Linked DNA regions of Homo sapiens: regions 2 and 3 are each linked to region 1. The links are contacts of gene promoters, found by promoter capture Hi-C in human tissues and cell types (Jung and others, 2019). All regions are on one chromosome and are shown on one strand. Each heading gives the region's core, a stretch centred on a gene start or on the middle of the fragment in contact. The rest is flanking DNA. Distances are from core to core; before and after follow the strand shown. Region 1 holds the start of RPL26L1 (ribosomal protein L26 like 1). Region 2 overlaps CREBRF (CREB3 regulatory factor). Region 3 has its middle 31 kb from the start of NKX2-5.

What was found. The method cuts DNA at HindIII sites, captures the fragments that hold promoters and counts their contacts. A contact is called where the count stands out against the background at its distance.
Region 2: a contact is called between a fragment that was not itself captured here and the fragment with the promoter of RPL26L1 in region 1, in 1 of the 25 tissues and cell types used here (IMR-90 fibroblasts).
Region 3: a contact is called between a fragment that was not itself captured here and the fragment with the promoter of RPL26L1 in region 1, in 1 of the 25 tissues and cell types used here (spleen).

What each region holds. Positions count from the first base shown.
Region 1 is chr5:172,957,924-172,960,728 of GRCh38, reverse strand. RPL26L1 (ribosomal protein L26 like 1) reads right to left here and starts at 1,305. Exons shown (of 4, transcript NM_016093.4): 1 at 1,261-1,305; 2 at 688-864. The coding sequence starts at 855. It overlaps RPL26L1-AS1 (RPL26L1 antisense RNA 1), which reads left to right and starts at 1,361. Exons shown (of 4, transcript NR_026682.1): 1 at 1,361-1,439; 2 at 2,472-2,590. The HindIII fragment of the contact is 17,043 bases long and covers 1-2,805 here.
Region 2 is chr5:173,100,142-173,102,841 of GRCh38, reverse strand. All of the region lies in intron 4 of CREBRF (CREB3 regulatory factor), which reads right to left. Among named protein-coding and RNA genes, the nearest start is that of BNIP1, 43 kb to the left of the region's middle. The HindIII fragment of the contact is 5,379 bases long and covers 1-2,700 here.
Region 3 is chr5:173,202,734-173,205,532 of GRCh38, reverse strand. No RefSeq gene overlaps it. Among named protein-coding and RNA genes, the nearest start is that of NKX2-5, 31 kb to the left of the region's middle. The HindIII fragment of the contact is 8,150 bases long and covers 1-2,799 here.

The DNA.
Region 1 (2,805 bases), core at 56-2,555:
CTCCCTTCCCTCCTCTCATGCATTCTAAGCTCCAATCACAGAGAACAGAGGGCTTGTACGTTCTCACATGGGCCAGTCTTTTAGAAATTATGAAAGAGTGACTCGCTGCATCTTTACCAGTTCTCCTGCCAAATCCAATGCTATCACATGGCCAGCTCCCACAAATCTCTGTCCATCAATCCCACTACACCCAAATACACTAAAACACTACTCTCACTGCAGCACCTTCCCCTACAGTCTGGTTCAACAAGCCACCCTGGGCAACAACACTTGGCAAACTAGCAGCCAGAAGGTTAAATCAAAAGTATTTTTGGTGGGGCACGGTGGCTCACACTTGTAATCCCAGTGCTTTGGGAGGCTGAGGTGGGAGGATCACTTGAGGCCAGGAGTTCAGAGACCAGCCTGGGCAACATAGCAAGACCCTATCTCTACAAAACAAACAAAAAAGCAGGTTTTTGCTTGGTTGACATACTGTTTTATTAAATTTTACTATTACTATTAAATAATTAAATGCTCTAAAGCAACGCAGGCACTCTCTGGTGGCTCTGAACCCTATCTCTGGCCTAACACATCTGAAGGGTCACACTACTTTCCAGAGTCCTGAGGCATGTGAGTCTGTGACTGCTCCACGCATGACGTTCTTAGGCAACGGTGTCCGAGCGCCACTAGCGCCGGAGGGAGACGTACCTGGACCTCGTCGTCCTTGCGGATGGGCATGGAGCGGACATTGTACTTCTGCCGCAGCTCCTTGGAGAGCGGGGATGACATGATCTTCCTGCGCACGTGTGAGGGGGCATTGAAGTGACGTTTGCGGTTTTTACTGCGGTCCGAGGTAACGAAGGGATTGAACTTCATGGTGACCCTCTACAAAGGGCGGAGAGAGACGGAATGAAGGGGCGCTCAGTGGGTTACAGGGGCCTGTTCTCGACCCAAGACACTCCTCATCCCCCAACAAAGGCTCTACAGGGGAGGTAGCCTCTGAAAAGGCAACTGAGGGAGGACAGAGAGATGCGACTAGTCTGACTATCACATAAAGTGAGGCGTGTGTGGAGGTCGCATGCCCGTCTAAAGGGGTCGTGGGGGAGAGGGTAGCACTGGGACCTTGAGGCTGAGGAAGGAATGCTAGGGTTAGGCAGGAATGGGTGGTCGGGAGGTCACTCAAAGAGAGCTGTGGGGTGACATGTGTTCCCGCGACACATAGGGCAGGGTCTCACGGGGCGGTAGAGTTCACTGTCCGAGAAAACTCCAGCCTCCACTCACCCGGCTACTAGCTGCCTCAGACCCTGAGTGCGCAGGGCCGGAAGTGAGTTTCCGTGCCGCGCAAGCGCAGAAAGACATCGAAGCCCCATTTCCGTAGGAGCGAAGTCGAATGGCGCCCCCAGCGGCTTGGGGTGGGATCTCAGTGCCTCATTCCTGGCGGCCCCGGGAGGGCGATGCCAGTGAGTACAAGGGCCTGCTTGTGTAGGGCCTGCGGTAGAGGCTTACTGGTGTTCTTTTTTTTTTTTTTGAGACGGAGTCTCGCTCTGTCGCCCAGACTGGAGTGCAGTGGCGCGAGCTCGGCTCACTGCAAGCTCCGCCTCCCGGGTTCACGCCATTCTCCTGCCTCAGCCTCCCGAGTAGCTGGGACTACAGGCGCCCCCCACCACGCCCGGCTAATTTTTTGTATTTTTAGTAGAGACGGGGTTTCACCCTGTTAGCCAGGATGGTCTCGATTTCCTGACCTCGTGATCCGCCCGCCTCGGCCTTCCAAAGTGCTGGGATTACAGGCGTGAGCCGCCGCGCCCTCCTACCTCTACTTTTTTCTATCTCTGGGACTAAACGGCGGCCGGCGGCGTGCCTGCGGGTTTGTGGCCGCCGCCCCGCCCCTCTCTCCTAGACCCCGCCCCTCTCATCCAGTCCCCGCCCACTCCGGCCGCTCCGCGCCCACCTGTGGCCCTCTTGGCCCTTCTGCCCGTGCCTGGCCCCGCCGGGTCGCTCCCGAGCTCCGCGTTTCGTTCGCCGACCCCTGGAAGACTGCCTGGAGGCCCGGGCGCCACCCAACCACTGGCTAGGCCGACACTTTGCGCGGACCCTGGGTGTAAAAGGTCCCCGGGTCTCTGGTCCCGACGGAGCTGTGAGGGAGATCAACCACGCCCCCTCCGTGGGCACCGTGGCGGCAGGGAAGGAAAAGGGCTCTGGGTCTCGACTCTCTTCGGGTTAAGAACCGACGGGGTTTATTCTATGCAAGGTGTTATTAACTCCAACTCTCCCTTTCGTTCATTCATTCCATATATGTTGAACGACAACTTAGTGCCAAATGCCGGCATGCTGAAACTCAGAGAGGGAAGATGTCTTGCAAGTACAGCAGCCACACCCAGGCAGGTCCCGTGCTCTCTCTTAGTTTATCAGTGTTCCCTGACATGTAGTGGTGACATTGTTAAACACCTGCGTTTACTAATACTAGATTTTTTTTTTTTTTTTTTTTGAGATAGAGTTTCGCTCTTGTTCCCTGGGCTGCAGTGCAGTGGCACCATCTCGGCTCACCGCAACCTCCGCCTCCCAAGTTCAAGCGATTCTCCTGCCTCAGCCTCCCCAGTATCTGGGATTACAGGTATGCGCCACCACGCCCGGCTAATTTTGTATTTTTAGTAGAGACGGGGTTTCTCCATGTTGGTCAGGCTGGTCTTGAACTCCCGACCTCAGGTGATTCTCCCGCCTCGGCCTCCCAAAGTACTGGGATTACAGGCGTGAGCCACTGCGCCTGGCCTACTAATACTAGGTTTTATTCCGGGCCCTTCACAGTTAATGTTGGAGGCCTCTGGAGGA
Region 2 (2,700 bases), core at 78-2,577, 140 kb before region 1:
ACCTGGTTACAGGTCTACCCCAGCACCAAGCCAGCAGCTGCAGACCTAGGCTCAGGGCCCACCCATCCCTGGAGTCCTGGACTCCAGGCTCACACCCACAGTCCTAGTTGACAGGCCTGCCCCAAGAGACCCCCATGCCACGCTGGTGCCTGTGGAGTCAGGACCAAGTCCACTCCCACAGATACAGGTGCCAGGTAAGTTCTCGTGGATTCAGACTCAAAGCCCACCCCACTGCCGGTTCAGCTCCTATGGACCCAGGTTTCAGACTGACCCCAAATGATCCAGGCTCCAGGCCTGCTTCCACAGTACCAGGCACCAGGATGACCTCTACAGACCCAAGCCTCAGACCCACCTGGCTGCTGACTCCAGCAATAGGCCAGCCTACCCAAGGACTCCAGGAGCAAACTTGCCTGCAGAGCCCTTCAGCAAGCCCACCCAGAACCTCTAGATGACCTGACAAGTGAAGGGCTTTCCTTGGCAAAGCCAGTCTATAAAGACTGGAAGAGGAGTCCACATGTTTAAATGTATAGACACCAATTAAAGGCCACAAGGATCACAAATAATCAGGGACAAATGACACTAGCAAAGGAAGAAAATTAAGCACCAGCAACTGATCCAAAATAATGCAGATCTATGAACTTCCTAACAAAGAATTCAAAATAATTGTCTTAAAGAAGCTCAGTGAGCAACAAGAGAACATAGACAACCAAATGCAATCTAGAGCTGAAGAACACAAGGACTAAACTGAAATATTCCATAGGGCAATTCAACAGAAGACTTGATCAAACAGAAGAAAGAAGCAGTGAGCTCCAAGACAGGTCATTTGAAATTATCCAGTTAGAGGAACAAAAAGAAAAAGGAATGAAAAAGAATAAAGAAAGCCTACAGGATTTATAGGACACCATCAAGCAAAATGAAATGCACATTATAGGAATAGTGAAAAGAGTAAAGAAAGAGAAAGGGGCAGAAAGCTTATTTAAAGTAATAATGACAGGCCGGGCGCGGTGGCTCACACCTGTAATCCCAGCACTTTGGGAGGCCGATGGGGCAGATCACCTGAGGTCAGGAGTTCAAGACCAGCCTGACCAACATGGTGAAACCCCGTCTCTACTAAAAATACAAAAATTAGCTAGGTATGGTGGGTGTCGGTAATCCCAGCTACTCAGGAGGCTGAGGCAGGAGAATCACTTGAACCCAGGAGGCAGAGGTTGCAGTGAGTCAAGATGGTGCCACTGCACTCCAGCCTGGGCGACAGAGTGGCAAGACTTCGTCTTAAAAAAAAAAAAAAAACTTCACTAAGACACATTATAATCAAATTCTGGAAAGTCAAAGACAAACAGACTTTTGAAAGCAGCAAGAGAAAAGCAACTTGTCATATACAATGAAACTCTCATAAGACTGTCAGTGGTTTTCTCAGCAGAAACCTTGAAGGCTAGAAGAGAGTGAGATAACATATTCAAAGTGCTGAAAGAAAAAAAACCACTGGGCTGGGCATGGTGGCTCATGCAAGTAATTCCAGCACTCTGGGAGGCCAAGGCAGGTAAAATGCTTCAGCCCAGGAGTATAAGACCAGCCTGGGTAACATGGTAAAACCCCATCTCTACAAAAAAAATACAAAAATTAGCTGGGTGTGGTGGCATACACCTCAGCTACTTGGGAGGCTGAGGTGGAAGGATTGCTTGAGCCCAGGAGATTGAGGGTGCAGTAAGCTAGGATCACGCCATTGCACTCTAGCCTGAGCAAGAGTTAAGACCCTGTCTCAGAGAAAAAAACAAAAACAATACCCTACAAAGAACACCATATCCAGCAAGCCAGCTGTCCTTCACAAATGAAAAAAATAAATAAAAGCTTTCCTAAGTTGGGCATGATGATGCACATCAGTAGTTCCAGCTACTCAAGAGGACTGAACTGGGAAGATTGCTTAAGCTCAGGAGTTCAAGACCAGCCTGAGTAACACAGTGAGACCCTCTCTCTTAAGGGAAAACAAAAAAGACTCCCAGAAAACAAAAGCTGAGGGAGTTCATCACCAGTAGGACTGCTTCACAAGAAATGTTAATGGGAGTTCTTCAAGTTGAAATGAAAGGATGCTAACTAACAGCATGAAAACATATGGGTTGGGGGGGAGCGGTGTGGCTCACGCCTGTAATCCCAGCACTTTTCGAGGCTGAGGTAGGTGGATCACCTGAGGTCAGGAGTTTGAGACTAGCCGGGCCAACATGGTGAAACACTGTCTTTACTAAAAATACAAAAATTAGCAGGGCGTGGTGGTGGTCACCTGTAATCTCAGCTACTCAGGAGGCTGAGGCAGGAGAATCGCTTGAACCCGGGAGGTGGAGTTGCAGTGAGCTGAGATCACGCCACTGCACTCCAGCCTGGGCGAGAGAGTGAGACTCCATCTCCAAAAAAAAAAGAAAAGAAAAACATGAAAGTATAAAATTCACTGTGTAAAAATAAGAACAGTCATATTCAGAATGCTCTAATACTGTAACAGTGGTATGCAAAACACTTTTAATGCTAGTATAAAAGTTAAAAAGGCATTAAAAATAACTATATATAAAATAATTTTGGCTGTGCATGGTGACTCACACTACTAATCCCAGCACTTTGGAGGGCCGAGGTGGGCGGATCACTTGAGGTCAAGAGTTTGAGACCAGCCTGGCCAACATGATGAAACCCTGTCTCTACTAAAAAAAAAAAAAA
Region 3 (2,799 bases), core at 118-2,617, 240 kb before region 1:
TTTTGAGACAGAGTCTCACTCTGTTGCCCAGGCTGGAGTGCAGTGGCGCAATCTCGGCTCACTGCAAGCTCTGCCTCCCGGATTCAGGCCGTTCTCCTGCCTCAGCCTCCCGAGTAGCTGGGATTACAGGCGCCCGCCACCACGCCCGGCTAATTTTTTGTATTTTTAGTAGAGATGGGGTTTCACCGTGTTAGCCAGGATGGTCTCGATTTCCTGACCTCGTGATCCACCCGCCTCAGCCTCCCAAAGTGCTGGGATTACAGACGTGAGCCACCATGCCTGGCCAACAACAATTTCTTAAAAACTGATTTTAAAATGGGCAAACGACTTGAATAGACATTTCTCCACAGAGGATATACAAATGGCCAGTGAGCATATGGAAAGATGGTCAGCATTACTAGTCATTAGGATAACGCAAATCCAAACCACAACGAGGTTCCATTCTATGCCCATTAGAATGGCTACTATCAAAAGAAAGAGAGAAGGCAAACAAGCAGGGAAAGAAAGAAAAAGAAGAAAGAGGAAAGAGAGAGACGAAGGAAGGAAGGAAGGAGGGAGGGAAGGAGGGAAGGAAGGAAGGGAGGAAGGAAGGAAGGAAGGAAGGATGGAAGGAGGGAAGGAAGGATGGAAGGAAGGGAGGGAGGAAGGGAGGGAGGGAGGGATGGAAGGAGGGAAGGAAGGAACGAAGGAAGGAAGGAATTAAAAAAAGAAGAAGAAGAAGCAAAAGTTGGGCATGGTGGTGCATGCCTACAGACCCAGCTACTGGGGAGGTTGAGGTGGGAGGATCACTTGAGGCCAGAAGTTTGAGACCAGCTTGGGCAACACAGGAAAAAAAAAAAGTTAAAGGAAAGAAAGAAAGAAAACGCTGGCTAGATGTGGAGAAATCGGAACCCTGGTCCCTTGCTGCTGGTAATGTAAAATGGTGTGGCTGTTGTAGAAAAAGTTATGACAATTCCTCAAAAAAAAATGACATACAATTGCCATAAGATCCAGCAATTCCGCTTCTAGGTATATACCCCAAAAAAGTGAAAGCAGAGTGGATATTTGTGCACCAAGATTAACAGCAGCATTATTCACAATAGCCAAAAGGTGGCAGCAAACCAAGTGTCCACTGACAGATGAATAGGTAAATAAAATGCAGAATGTGCATACAATGGAATATTATTCAGCCATAAAAAGGAAGGAGGTTTTTTGGGTTTTTTGTTTTGTTTTGTTTGTTTGCTTTTGAGAAAGGGTCTCATTCTGTTGCCCGGGCTGGAGTGCAGTGGTGTGATCACGGCTCACTGCAGCCTCAACCTCCCAGTCTCAAGCAATCCTCCCACCTCAGCCTCCTGAGTAGGTGAGACTACAGGTGCACACCTCCACACCTGGCGAATTTTCTGCTTATTTTTTATAGAGATGAGGTCTCACTATGTTGCCTAGGCTGGTCAGAATTTTTTTAAGACTTGTCAAGTGAAGCAGTGGGAGTGGAGGAGAAAAAAAGAACTCTGTAACTGGTGGTGATTGGAAGGAAAAAATTTTTAATGCTTTCTTCCTGAACAAATAGCTCAGATTGAAATGGAAGAAAATGTTAACATGTTAAAATATAGACAAACCTTGAGGACATTATGCTAAATAAAATAAGCCAGTCGCAAAAAGATAAATACCCATAGGATTCCACTCATATGAGGTACGCGGAGTAGTTCAATTCATGTAGACACGAAATTGAATGGTGACTTCCAGGGGCTGGAGGGAGGAGGGATTGGGGGGTAATAGGTGTACAGCTTCCATTTAGAAAGATGAAAAACTTCTGGATATGGCTGGTGGGTGCATGCCAACTGATGGTTGCATGACAGTATGAATGTACTTCAAGAACTGAATGCCACAGGATGGCACGCTCGAAAATAGTTAAAACGAGAAATGTTATGGTATATATATTTTATAGAAAGAAGGAAGGAAGAGAAAGAGAAAGAAAGAGAGAGAAAGAAAGAGAAAAAGAAAAGAAAAGAAAGAAAAAGAAAGAAAGAAAGAAAGGAAAGAAAGAAAGAAAGAAAGAAAAAGAAAGAAAGAAAGAAAGAAAGAAAGAAAGAAAGAAAGAAAGAAAGAAAGAAAGAAAGAGGGAGGAGGGGGAGGGGAGGGGAGGGCTCTGCCCGTTCCCATTTCCTATAGGTGGAGGGTTTTCCTCACAGGGATGGAGTCCCCTGCAGTTCTAGGTTTTGCATGGGACCGAGTGGACCCTCAGCGCCTCACTCCTCAATGGCTATAGGGTAGCCCTCGGGCTGCAGGTGAGAGGTGGGCAGCCTGGGCGCAAGGCCCGCTCATAGGTTGTGCTTGTGTGCACTTGGACAGTGCTCACAGAGGGGTGCTCCCTGCAGCAGCGGCTGGGGTGGTCTGAAGACGGGTGAGGCATACGGGACGTCTGCTCTACATGCACATCACCTGTGTCCACTTTCAACCTCCCACGCCTTTGATATTAGATCTGTTGTTGTGTTTATCTTATTTACAGAGGCTTTGCGGGCAGATGGGGTTAGAACTGCTGGAGAGGAGGGAGAAGGGCCGACAGCAGAAACCAGAGCGTCCTGTGAGATGAAGAAAAGGCCGGGAACCTGTAAGAATTCTTTAGTGTTTGGGAAGCAACTTGATTGGGTCCTAGAAAAATGGGGTCTAGGGGGAGACATAACTAGTTATGGAAAAAAAGATGCTTTCCCCCAGATTCTGAGATTATGAACCTGGACCCAAATGCCAGGCTGCCCTCCAGGCATCCCGGGAACAGCTCTCCCCACTGCTCAACACAGCAAATGGGAGATGTACTTCCCCTGG